Linked DNA regions of Homo sapiens: region 1 is linked to region 2. Evidence: promoter capture Hi-C in human tissues and cell types (Jung and others, 2019). All regions are on one chromosome and are shown on one strand. The core of a region is centred on a gene start or on the middle of the fragment in contact, and the rest is flanking DNA. Distances in the headings are between cores, read along the strand shown. Region 1 overlaps NMNAT3 (nicotinamide nucleotide adenylyltransferase 3). Region 2 holds the start of RBP1 (retinol binding protein 1).

Evidence for each region. The method cuts DNA at HindIII sites, captures the fragments that hold promoters and counts their contacts. A contact is called where the count stands out against the background at its distance.
Region 1: a fragment that was not itself captured here is called in contact with the fragment with the promoter of RBP1 in region 2 in 1 of the 25 tissues and cell types used here (spleen).

Annotation. Positions count from the first base shown.
Region 1 is chr3:139,585,901-139,592,490 of GRCh38, reverse strand. The region is part of intron 4 of NMNAT3 (nicotinamide nucleotide adenylyltransferase 3); the gene reads left to right. Among named protein-coding and RNA genes, the nearest start is that of RBP1, 49 kb to the right of the region's middle. RefSeq lists an enhancer at 5,567-5,956. The HindIII fragment of the contact is 3,521 bases long and covers 793-4,313 here.
Region 2 is chr3:139,537,664-139,544,610 of GRCh38, reverse strand. It overlaps RBP1 (retinol binding protein 1), which reads left to right and starts at 4,869. Exons shown (of 4, transcript NM_002899.5): 1 at 4,869-5,151; 2 at 5,652-5,830. The coding sequence starts at 4,893. All of the region lies in intron 3 of COPB2-DT (COPB2 divergent transcript), which reads right to left. RefSeq lists an enhancer at 5,794-6,947. The HindIII fragment of the contact is 8,428 bases long and covers 1,356-6,947 here.

The DNA.
Region 1 (6,590 bases), core at 1,304-3,803, 50 kb before region 2:
CTCGAGGAGTATCTTTGTGGAGTTCTCTGTATTTCCTGAATTTGAATGTTGGCCTGCCTTGCTAGATTGGGGAAGTTCTCCTGGATAATATCCTGCAGAGTGTTTTCCAACTTGGTTCCATTCTCCCCGTCACTTTCAGGTACACCAATCAGACGTAGATTTGGTCTTTTCACATAGTCCCATATTTCTTGGACACTTTGCTCATTTCTTTTTATTCTTTTTTCTCTAAACTTCCCTTCTCACTTCATTTCATTCATTTCATCTTCCATCGCTGATACCCTTTCTTCCACTTGATCGCATCGGCTCCTGAGGCTTCTGCATTCTTCACATAGTTCTCGAGCCTTGGTTTTCAGCTCCATCAGCTCCTTTAAGCACTTCTCTGTATTGGTTAGTCTAGTTATACATTCTTCTAAATTTTTTTCAAAGTTTTCAACTTCTTTGCCTTTGGTTTGAATTTCCTCCCGTAGCTTGGAGTAATTTGATTGTCTGAAGCCTTCTTCTCTCAGCTCGTCAAAGTCATTCTCCATCCAGCTTTGTTCCATTGCTGGTGAGGAACTGCGTTCCTTTGGAGGAGGAGAGGCGCTCTGATTTTTAGAGTTTCCAGTTTTTCTGCTCTGTTTTTTCCCCATCTTTGTGGTTTTATCTACTTTTGGTCTTTGATGATGGTGAAGTACAGATGGGTTTTTGGTGTGGATGTCCTTTCTGTTTGTTAGTTTTCCTTCTAACAGACAGGACCCTCAGCTGCAGGTCTGTTGGAGTACCCGGCCTTGTGAGGTGTCAGTCTGCCCCTGCTGGGGGGTGCCTCCCAGTTAGGCTGCTCGGGGGTCAGGGGTCAGGGACCCACTTAAGGAGGCAGTCTGCCCGTTCTCAGATCTCCAGCTGCGTGGTGGGAGAACCACTGCTCTCTTCAAAGCTGTCAGACAGGGACATTTAAGTCTGCAGAGGTTACTGCTGTCTTTTTGTTTGTCTGTACCCTGCCCCCAGAGGTGGAGCCTACAGAGGCAGGCAGGCCTCCTTGAGCTGTGGTGGGCTCCACCCAGTTCGAGCTTCCCGGCTGCTTTGTTTACCTAAGCAAGCCTGGGCAATGGCGGGCGCCCCTTCCCGAGCCTCGTTGCCGCCTTGCAGTTTGATCTCAGACTGCTGTGCTAGCAATCAGCGCGATTCCGTGGGCGTAGGACCCTCTGAGCCAGGTGTGGGATATAGTCTCGTCGTGCGCCGTTTCTTAAGCCGGTCTGAAAAGCGCAATATTCGGGTGGGAGTGACCCGATTTTCCAGGTGCGTCCGTCACCCCTTTCTTTGACTCGGAAAGGGAACTCCCTGACCCCTTGCGCTTCCCAGGTGAGGCAATGCCTCGCCCTGCTTCGGCTCGCGCACGGTGCGCACACACACTGGCCTGCGCCCACTGTCTGGCACTCCCTAGTGAGATGAACCCGGTACCTCAGATGGAAATGCAGAAATCACCCGTCTTCTGTGTCGCTCTCACTGGGAGCTGTAGACCGGAGCTGTTCCTATTCGGCCATCTTGGCTCCTCCTCTGAGTAAATTCTTTTTTTATATATTTTTAATCTATATCATTATGCAGCTATTAAAAGTGATGTTTTCAAGAGTGCTAATGACCAAGAAAAACCCTTATGATATAATCTAAATAAAGAAGAATTAAAAGTGAATTTACGTGGTTTGAAGAAAAGTATAAAAAAATACAAAATGAACTATAATATAAACCATATTAACATCTTAGATACGTTTTATTAACTTTTTATCCTTCACACTTTTCAGTAGACTGTAATATTTCTACAGCACGCATTAATTTTTAAGCTTATTTTATATATCATATTTATAAATTTATTAGATAATAAAAGTTGTTACTCTAAGGCTTATAGTGTTATTTGTTCCATCCTCATTTCTGATTCCTGGTTCCCAGAGCAATCACTTATGACTCTTTCAGATGTTTTCTCTGGTACTTGACTCCCCATTTCTAAATAACAAGCTTATACTGTTATATCTTGTTTTTTCAGATTTAGATAATATATCTTGGCTTCCTTCAGGAAAAATGAAGATTTCACTCTCTCACACCTCCACCCTCCCATTCACACCTCGCCTCCACCACATGCTCCCAAATTGATTAGCTCATAACTTTGGGTTTGATTCATATTATTGTTCACATTTATGTCTATGTAAATAGTGTCAAGAAAACCATGCAGTGCACTATGATTCCACTGCCTCCCATATAAACTTTGGGTTTTTTCCTAGAGTTAGTAATTGTTCATGTATTTGTTGCCTTAGTTTCCTATGCCTATCATTAATTCAGTCCCAATTTTACCAAAAGATCTCTAAAACTCTTCTTAGTACAGACAAATTCATCAGATGATCTGTCTGTTCCGTTTTGTGTCTGCCCATATCCCTCCTGAAGCCCTCCAGGTCCTAGCTGGACATCCAGCTCTCTGTACCCACTATACTGTCATCCTGGGATTGCCTTTCACTGTCTCCCTGGGGATTCTCTGTGCCTGTTTCCTGATTCAAAACCCCTGTTTCTTGGATCCCATGCCTTCTGCTTTTGGGTTTACTCTCTTATTTGGGTGGTGGAGTTCGTCTTCTGGCATCTTTGTGAGAAAGGGTATAGAGGAGGTAAATTTTCTGAGACCTAGCATGTATGAACACAACTTCATGCCATACTTCAGAGGGCAGTAAACTACAGCCCATGGGCCAAATCTGATCCATAGCCTATTTTCATTCATGTTGTGAGCTATGGGATGGTTTGCTTACATTTTTTAAATGGCTTTTAAAATTATGCAACAAAGCTTGTATGTGGCCCATAAAAACTGTATGTGGCCTGCAAAGCCTAAACTATTTACTATCTGTCCAATAATGGAAAAAGCCTGCTGACACCTGTTCTAATTGATTGGTAGTTTGGCCAAATGTAGAATTAAGGTTGGAAATGATTTTCCTTTAACATTTTGAAGACTTCACTCCACTGTCTCCTGGATTCAAGACTTGCTGTTGAGAAATCCAATGCTATCCTGCTTTCCAGTTCTGTATGTTAAACCTCTGGTTTTCTCTTTTGAAACTTTCAGGACCTTCTCTTTAAACCTACTCATCTAAAATCTTATAATGTTTTGCCATTGTGTGAATCTTCTTTTATGCCAAATGTTGATTCTCAGAGGACCATTGATTCTGAAAATGTATGTCCTTCTAGTCTGGGAAAATAGAATGTCTTATTTATTTGATAATTTCTTCTGTTTTCCTGTTCTCTTTCAGAAATTTCTATTAGTTCACTGTGTACCTCCTATATTAAACCTCTAGTCTTTTCTTCTATTTTACAATTCCTGCATACAATTCCTGCAAATCCTGCATACAATTTCTGCATTGCCTTTGTATCCTCCAAGTTCCTTTGCTCCTGGTGGCTGTTTTAGTCTCTGTCTTTCATGGTGAGCACCTTTCCAAAATTTGTCTCTTCCTAGACTGTCCACTCATGTTTGCAGATCAGGCCCTAAATGCAGGCTAGAAGCTCTGGATGTGAATGTAAAGCTGATAGACCTCATGGTTATATGGTCAGGCCCTAGGTTCAAGACCCCCAAATGTGTGTAGGTGTTGGTGTCTTTTCCTAGGTAGGTCTGTTCCCCAGAGAGACATTCTGGGAAACATACTTAATCCTTCTGTCTTAAAGATGTTACTTCCCCTCCCTCAGCTGTGCCTATATTTGAGAATAAAGGTTCTCTCTGGTCCAACCCAGGCAGAAAGTAGATATGCGCCCTTCTGCCACAATGGGAGGATAACGTAGGCGATTAGAGGCTGGGGTGGATCCAAGGACTCTTCATACAAACTCTCAACTGGCCCTCCTGTTTTCAGGCCCTCTGGCACCCCCACCTGGAGAGGTTCTTGGCTCCTCCGATTCCTGAGCCACTCTGGGCCTCTGCTACTGCACAGCTTGCCTCTTACTGCCTTCCCTGCATGCAGAAGACTCTGCTTGGTTTATTATCAATTTTTATCAGCTCTCCAGTGTCCAAAATGTTTTGCATTTTCCCAACTATTGTCTCCTTTTGCACTCTCTTTGCCCTTATGATTTCATACTTTATTTATTCCTTTATTATCATTTTCTTAGTTTTCAGAGAGGGTAGAGATAAACAAGGAATTCTGTCTGTAGGGATGGTATATCTTCATTCTAACTAATGTGCTCGTCGTGTTACCCAGAACGAAAAGACAAGTTCACGTCCTTAAGGAGCGCTCAGTGTCATGGGAAAGGCACAGGCAGATGAATCATTTTCATACAGGTGCTGTAATGGAGATGTGTCTGAGCAGCAGAGGGTCACAGGAGAAGTATCTGCATCTAGTGGGGGAGGGCCTGAGAGGGTCACTGGGATTGTGACCTAGAGCAGTGGGGAAGGGAAAAGGCTTGGACTTATGACCATTTGGAGGGCAAGAAGGAGTTTTAGATCAAATTGTTATTTTTATTGACTCTCCTCTCCTGGGTGCTATAAAAAAGCATTGATTTCTCAATGCAGGGCCTGTCCTATCAAGATGAGCTAAACCATCACAGGTGACACCTGGGTATCCAACATGCCCAGCAGAGCTGCCTGGAGAGAGCCCTGTCCTTCCACCATTTTCTTCTATAAAACAGAAATTAATGTGAAGGTTAAATGTATGTAAATTGCTCAAGAAAGTCAGCACCCAGCAGGAGTTAGTCCTCCCAACCCCCATTTCTTTTAAACAGGAAGAGAAAAAGAAGGAGCATGTATGTCCCATGTATAACATGAGCTCAGATGCGCAGAAAGATAACTTACTTTGCTTTCTATAACATTCAACTTGATCTTAAGCCACCATTTCCATGAATTGTGAAAAAATATGTCACTTCAAGGGATTCCTGAAGTGGTAAACTTTTTAATTTTCAGCTTAGTCTTTTACAGGTTAGTTATTAATCAAGTGCATTTTTTCCTGCCTACCTCCCCAAGAGTGCATTAAGCATCCTGGATGGCTTAGCATCCTGGCTTCCAAAACAGGGCAGCTGCCCTCACTACTTTCTAGCCGAGGGATCTGTCCTTAATCTTAGGCACTGGCATCTATCCACTCTCGCTCCACTATTGAAGCCTCCTCAGCTTCTCTTGTCTCAGGCATTATATCCCTGTTGTCTGGACCTGTGCCTTGGCTCCCCATGGTACTGTCAATGCCATAGTCCCTGGCTTTGGACTGTACTCCCTATACCCTGTATCTACCCGCTAGTAGCCCAGGCACCTGCTGACTGCTAATTCTCAGCCTCCTTCACTATTCCTCTCAAGGAGACTTAGAATTGCTGTGGATCTGTGCCATACCTTGCCAAAGCTGAAGGAGGCTGTTCTGAAGCTCTCTCTGCTATACACGCCACATGCCATTTCTATTCTGTCAGTGCCGTTGTGTATTGGCACAGGGCAATGCAAGGTGGTCTTCCAGAATTCCAGATGGGAAGCAAAATATAAACTCCACTGCTCTAACATTGTCAGATTTAACTGGGCATCTTAACTATGCCCTCCCAAACCCCAATACAAATTAGGTTTATCTCTGCAGGGTATGAGAGTATAGGGAGCAGGCCTAATACCTGTCTAAACTGTCACCACAGACATTGTCTATCAGGCTTTTCTCTGCCCTTCTGCCCATTCTTCCACCTCACCTCACCCTCAGGCCAAAAAGGGCCTTTTGTTTTCATTTTCACTTTCTTTTCTTTTTACTGCTCTGTGGGCTTTAGTGAAACTGTGCACTCTGATTCCCCGGGTTTTCTGGTTCTTGATTATTTTAAGAGTAACTTTTGGAACTTAAATAAACCTTTTCTCTCTCAATATAGCCTGGCTCTTTTAAATGAAAGCTTTAACCTTCACAAGCATTACCTCTGAAATGAGTTTCAAGAGCCAGTTGTGGGAGTCAAAAACTGAATATGACCTCCTTGCTCTCAGCTGGGTTCTGCCATCCCCTTGAAGGAGGGGGTACCTCAGCCCTCAGGAAGGAGAGCCTGGGCCTGCCAGGATTACCATGGAAGGAAAATGCTTCCAGTTTCCAGGGGGGCAGCCTACACTCTTAGGATCAACTTTTCCATTAAAACAACAAAAAGTGGTGGGTAGCACGTTTTCCACACTTCACCTTTTTTAAACTTTTATTTTGGGTTCGAGGGTACATGTGAAGGTTTGTTATGTAGATAAACTCATGTCTCAGGGGTCTATTGCACAGATTATTTCATCACCCAGGTATTAAGCTTGGTGCCCATTAGTTATTTTCTCTGCTTCTCTCACTCTCCACCCTCCACCCTCAAGTAGACCCCAGTGTGTATTGGTCCCTTCTTTGTGATCATGAGTTCTCATCATTAGCTTCCACTTAGAAGTGAGAACATGCGGTATTGGTTTTCTGTTCTGCTTCTCTTTAGCAAACTTCACTATTAAAGCTAAAAAGCTGAGAGATAAACACCTGGAACCAGAGAGGTTAGCAGGCTATGGGAGCACCAGAGCCACTGGTGCCCTGTTGAGCACTTGCCAGAACGGCTCACTTAAGCTTTGAATCAGCAGCCATGCAAGTCGGGAAGAACAGAATTCAGAGACTGGATCCCTTCCAAGCTGAGAAGCCTCAGAGTTGACT
Region 2 (6,947 bases), core at 3,620-6,119:
TTAAAAAATGAGTTCTTATCTTTGAGAGATACTTTTTGAAATGTCCCCAGATGATATGATATCCAGTATTTGCCTCAAAATAATTTTGAAAATTGGGGAGTAGGTGGTGATATAGATGAAATGAGATTGGCTATGGGTTAATAATTGGTGAAGCTAGGAAATGAATCCATGGTGGCTCAATATACTATTCTCTTTAAGTTTACATACGTTCAAAATTTCCTATAATAAAATAAGAAAGAGAGAGAACAAAAAAAGGAGAGAAAGAAACCCATCTCTTGTACTGTATGTCATAATCTGAGAAACAAATATGTGATTGTATGAAGAGGGTCAGATAGAAAGTAGCTGACCCACACTGCAGAACCATTTTCTACACAGAAATAAATCCACCAGCCACCCTTGAAAGTGGGTTGAAGACTGTGGGGCCTGTAGACATGGTATGTCATTTGCATGTTTGAATATTCATGAACTCATCAAAGAGGAGTGTCCTCAGTAGACCTCAATGCCCCTTAGCCTCTGTGGCCTCTTGACAAGCTCTCTCACTCCCCTACACAGGAAGGCAGCTTTGTTGGGCCACTCTCATCCTTTCAGACATTAACCTCATAGATGGCATGGTAATGGCTCGGAGATTTGAGCAGGGTCATTCTCCATCGCATAACTCCGGAGACATATTTGAACACAGGAAAAAGGAAGATTTTAGAAGTCTCCAAGATAACAATGAGCCCTTGAGAAGAAAAGCAGGGACATGGTCTGAGAGACAGGGAAGCCAGATGAGAAATATTTTCTTATAAGTTGTAGAAGTATCAGGCCACCTTTCCCCTGCTAGGAGTGAATCTCTTGGCATGGGGCAGACCTGGCAGACAGGGTGGGATGAGACTGCAAGTCACCCCCTACCCCAGGATCTTGAGAGAAATATCTTCTGGGGGCTGGGGACAGAACCTCAGGGTCTGTTTCAGGGCTCTCCTCCAACCCCATTGCCTTTGGGAAGCTCTGCCACCCCAACAACTGGGGACCCTGGCAAGCTGCTTGATCTGCAGTGATACAGGCATAGTACTGCCCGCCTCACAAGGCAGGCGATTGAGGCATCATTTCATGGACCTATTTTTCTTTTTTCTTTTTCTTTTTTGAGATGGAGTTTCACTGTGATACCCAGGCTGGAGTGCAATGGCACAATCTCGGCTCACCACAATCTCAGCTTCCCAGGTTCAAGCAATTATCCTGTCCAGCCTCCCAAGTAGCTGGAACTACAGGTGTGTGCCACCACACCTGCCTAATTTTTGTATTTTTAGTAAAGACGGGGTTTCATCATATTGGCCAGGCTGGTCTCAAACTCCTGAACTCAAGTGATCTGCCCACCTCGGCCTCCCAAAGTGCTGGGATTACAGGGGTGACCCACCATGCCCGGCCCATGGACATATTTTTCTGAGCTCTGGTTTGTTCCTGTGGAGTTGACTGATCAGCTGAAAAATGAAAAGGCATATTTCCTTCCTATCCTCACAGGAAGGGCCTGCAGTGTCCCTGAGCTTCCCTCACTCAGGAGCTCACGCTGGAGATCCTTGGCTGTCTCCTCTCCTCCCCAACATAAAATTGTTCTTTGTGCCTGTCTAACTCACTCTATACACAGGCCAGGGTGGTTTCCCACTGGTCTGGCTCTTCTTTGTGGCCTTGGGAGCAATTTGAGCCCCCAAGAATTGGTTGTAGATCTCTGCTGCTCTTCTTTAAAGCTATTGAATAAAGCGAACCCCATTAGAGGTGCCTGAGTATACTGACATCTCTTTCTCTCAGTCATTTACAAGTTGGCCGTTGCTTTGGCACTCTGGCACTCCATTGCTCACCTGTCTCCTTGGTCACCTGGACTATCCTTCCTCCTCCTCATCTCTCTGATCCTGGCTGTCCTCAAGCTCCAGCTAGAGCCTCACCCCGTCCAGGGAGCCCTCACTGATTGCAAGCCCACACAGACACCCTCCTTCTTCTTTACATACTGTGTTCAGTTACTCTTTCTTTGCTTCACACATTCCAAGGAAGATTAACCCAGACAGAAAGGAGCTCCAAAAAATACTTTTTGTTTCCAAATCGAGAACCAAATGGATTAAATCAAGCACAACAGCATGGGCTGAGGAAGGATAACTTTGATGGTAGCTGATGCTTCTGAAGAGCATTTCCCATTTCAACTCATTAGACTGATCTTAAAGCCCCAGAAGAGGGGCACAAACCAGCACCCAGGCTCTCCCTTGTCTTTTCCCTCCCTTCTAGGGCCCCTCTGGCTCAAACAGCAGTGGATCTGGAACAGTACTCAGTGCCACGCCCTGTAGATTCCTCATCCTTTGCTTCTCAGCACCCTGAGAGGTAGTCAGAGTGTCCCCATTTCACAGATGTGGTGACTAAGCCACAAAGAGATCAAGTATCTTACCCCAAATCACTCTGGTAGACAGTGACCCAGCTAGCAAGAACAGGCATTCTGCCTCTAAAGCCTACACATGCAGCCTACCCTTTGCTGCAAGAAATAGCACAGCCACCAGGGGCTGTGCCTGGGAGGAGACCCAGAAGGGCAGGAGCGTACTGACCCATTTGGAAGACTAGACAAAGAGGTGGACAGACAGAAACTGAGTGAAACTAGCTGAATTAAGTGCTATATGTTCAGCTGACCAGGTCAGAAAAGTGAGATCAGGTGAGCAGAAGTTATCCAACGTGGTCAGAAGAGGGAGGAGTGGCAAGCTTGTGGTTCTTTGGGATGGACAAGAAGGACTGGAGAGGTGGGCAGGCCTCTGCCTCGAGCACGAAAGGGCCATTCCAAGCATGGCAGGGAGTCAGAACAGACTGGCCTCTGCTGTGTGCCAGGCACTGTGCTGAGCATTTGGCATAAACCATCTCAGGTGATTCAGCATAAAGGGAGAAGTTTGGGGAGGATGAGAAATCCGGCTAGCTGGGCTGGAGGCATCAGAGAGCAGGGAGAAGAGTTTAGACTAGTTGGAAGTGACCAAGGAATGGCCAGTTCACTGCTTAAGCCTTTGACCAATGCTCCATTCTGGTAAGTCAGGATAACAAGAAAGCCCAAAGCATGGCTGGCCCTGGTGGGATGCCTTACAGAACCTGGGCCAGGCCCCATCCATCCTTGCGAGGTGTCTTATTGCACCTTCAGGTTGGAAGGACTGGGATAGGTTGCCCTGAGTGCCCAGCCAAGATGAGCCCTGGGCTGGCTAGGGAGGGACACAGAGCCAGTGCTTGTGTGAACAACTGATGACCTAACCATCCAGAGCCAGACAAAGAAGCAGTGGGAAACAAGGGCCTAGAGCTGGCTCTCAACCAGGGCTGGTTTACCCAGCACCCACACCCCAGTGCCTTTGACAATGTCTGGCGACATCTTTGTGTCTGGGTGCCACTGGGATCTAATGGGTAGAGGCCAGGGATGCCACTAAATATCCTACAGTACACAGGACAGGCTCCTGTAACAAAGACTTATGTGGCCTAGAATGTCAGTAGCACAGAGATTAAGAAACAAATCCTAGTCTAGGGAAAGAGGGTGAGAAGCGCTGAAATCCAAGTTGCTGCCTGGGAGGAAGCTGTCTCTACCCTGAGGAAGAGGCTCCTTTTCCTAATTCAGCCTGCACTGTGAGAACACATGTGAGCCCCAGGGAGGCACCCTGGGGAAGGTGGTGCTAGAGGGGAAGAAAATGTTATCTGCTGTCACTTAGGCTGTGATTTGTGCAAAAAGCGATTTAAAAGAGGTAGTCAAAAAGAGGGTCAAAAAGTCAGCCCATGTGATTATGTCATCTACTTGGTGGCAAATGCAGTTAAACCACAATGACATACCCACGCAGGTGACAAAGGAGATGTGATCAAAGATTTTCATTGCAGTACTGCTTTTAATAGTGAAAGATCAGAAACAATATAGTTTGTCCATCAGGGGACAAGCTGGATAAGCAATGGAATACTCCGTAAAATAATGGGGATACTTTCTATGTACAGCTATGGAAAAGTCTCCAGAATATATTAAGTGAATAAAGCAAAGTCCAGAACACCGTGGAGTACAGTGCTGCCATTAGGTGAAACGGGAGGAAACATTAATAAACAGTATATTGCTTACATTTGCATAAAGCAGCAGTGGATCTCAAAGTTGATTGTGCATCAGAATCACCCAGAAGGCTTTTTTAGCCACATGCACTTCAAATAACATCAACTATTTTACTTATTTATTTATTTATTTATTGAGCCAGAGTCTCACTCTGTCGCCCAGGCTGGAGTGTAGTGGCACGATCTCGGCTCACTACAACCTCCTCCTCCCGGGTTCAAGCTATTCTCCTGCCTCAGCCTCCCGAGTAGTTGGGACTACAGGCGCCCGCGACCACGCCCGGCTAATTTTTTGTATTTTTAGTAGAGACGAGGTTTTACCGTGTTGCCCAGGCTGGTGTCGAATTCCTGACCTCAGGTGATCCGCCCGCCTCGGCCTCCCAAAGTGCTGGGATTACAGGCGTGAGCCGCCGTGCCCGGCATCCTTTCTTTTATTTTCGGGAGAGACGTGGAAAGTGCCCCAATTTTCTCGCCCGTAGTTGAACCTCCCAGCTTTCCTGACCCCAGCCACCACCGGCGCGAGGCTTTAGACAAAGGCCTGTAAGTGGCCTCTTTCCTTAATCACGCCAGCACAAACCCCAGGAGATTGTTTCCCAACTCCCGAGTGGCTGCTGAGTGTGAGAAGTTAATGGCGTTTGAAGGAAATCCCCAGCAGCCGAAGAGTTCGGCCAACAAAGCAAACGTCCCGTCTCCGGTCTCCTCTTCCTTTGTAGGGGAAACGAACTGAACGTCTGAAACGAAGGTGGCGCGGCCTGGACAAACCTGACCCTTCGACATCCCCCGCCCCTGCGCCCGCCCTCGCTAAGCGGGGAGGAGCGACCGCTACAATGGATCCTCCCGCAGGCTTTGTGCGCGCTGGGAATCCAGCTGTCGCCGCCCCGCAGAGCCCCCTGTCCCCGGAGGGCGCTCATTTCCGGGCCGCCCACCACCCGCGTAGCACCGGCAGCCGCTGTCCCGGCAGTCTCCAGCCGTCCCGCCCGCTTGTGGCCAACTGGCTCCAGTCACTCCCCGAAATGCCAGTCGACTTCACTGGGTACTGGAAGATGTTGGTCAACGAGAATTTCGAGGAGTACCTGCGCGCCCTCGGTAAGCGCTGCCCGCTGCGCCCTGGGCGCCCCGCCGAGCAGCTCCGGGCCGCTCCCTAGAGCCCTCCCGAGACGCTGCCTGCCTGCCTCCATCCCGGCGAGCCGCGGTCCGGTGCCCCCGGACGCCAGAAAGGGCGTCCTCGGCCACCGCTCCCAGGGCAGCCCCCAGGCTGCAGATTGGAGAATTCGGGGTTGTTAGGTTAACCGGTGGCAAATGTCTGCTCGTTGGCCCTGGAGGTGGGTAATTTCATTAGTAAATCTGGGGCTTGGTTTGCTACTTTTTGTTTTTAAACGGTTAACATAAGAGCAGAAAACTTTGTTGGGGGCGGCAGGGGAGGCACAGGCAGGCTGTGCGCAGAGACAACGCAAAGCCAGCGGGAACCCTAACAGTGTTCGCGGGCGGAGAGGGCTCCTGGGGCCCCGCTACCTTGGGAACGGTTCTCTGAGTTTCCCTGCCAACTCTCTGGCGCTCTCTCTCTCCCCGTTCAACCCCCACCGCAGACGTCAATGTGGCCTTGCGCAAAATCGCCAACTTGCTGAAGCCAGACAAAGAGATCGTGCAGGACGGTGACCATATGATCATCCGCACGCTGAGCACTTTTAGGAACTACATCATGGACTTCCAGGTTGGGAAGGAGTTTGAGGAGGATCTGACAGGCATAGATGACCGCAAGTGCATGGTGAGGATTCGCGTCCACCTGGTGTCTCCTGCCCAGGGGGCCTGACCAAGGGCTGGGCTAGTTCATCCGAGAGGGGGCAAGGGCCTGAGGGACTGAAAACTCTTCCCACTCTCAGCCCCCATGGTGGGCAGCACCAACTCATGAAGCATCCTGCTCTATCTACACTGGAAGGTGATGGTTATGAAGGCTGCCATGTGCTGTGTCTCCACTGCGTTCAGGCACTCTGCCCGGTGCTTTATGCACATGACTTCACCTAAGCCTCACACAGCCTTTGAGGGAGATATGAATATGCCCATTTTACAGATGAAGAAACAGTCTCAAAGAGATGAAGTAACATGTCCAGAGTAGCACAGCTAGGGAGGGTCTGGAGTTCAAAGCATGTCTGTTGATGCCGTTCTCTGGCTGACTGGGCTGGTGGAGGGTAAAAGAAAAGAAAGGAGGAAAGAAAAAAGAAACACAGGTAACCCCTTTGAAGTGTAAACTTTCAGTATGACTTAGTGTGAAGTCACTCCAGGAAGCTGGGGGCCCCTTGATCTCTGCTGGAAGCCCCCTGATCTGCCCATCCTTGCCCCAGAGCTGGGATTTGGCTCCTGGCCATCCCCTGCCCCACCCTGTCATCCAATGCCTACTGAGCATTCTTTGAACTTTGCAGCTGACACCTATTCAGTAAGTCAGGGCCCCTCCAGCCCAGACCAGAGGAAACAGCAGTGGGGGAAGAGGGAGGGCCAAGAGCTCCCTTCCACAAGGGTGGGAAACTCCTGACCCAGGACATCCCAATTAGTACTGCCACAGCAGATGCCGGAAGGCCAGCCCCAGGCCTCCATCAACATTATCTGGTTGCTGGGAGGTCAAGGTACTCTTGTTCTCCCTTTATAGTCTTGGGTTCAGAAGTGGCTTATGTTCATCCCAGGAGCCACCTTGCTTATTGATGGGGTCCTCACCCACCACCTCCCACCATTTACCAAGGGTCTTTACCGCTGGTCTGCTGTGTGTCCAGCACTGTGCTAGTCATCTTACAGCACAGCACAGTGAGGGAGGGATAAGTAACCCCATGTTATGCAGTGACTGAGGCTCAGACAGAGGAAGAGACTTGTAAGAGATGAGACTTGAGCCCTGG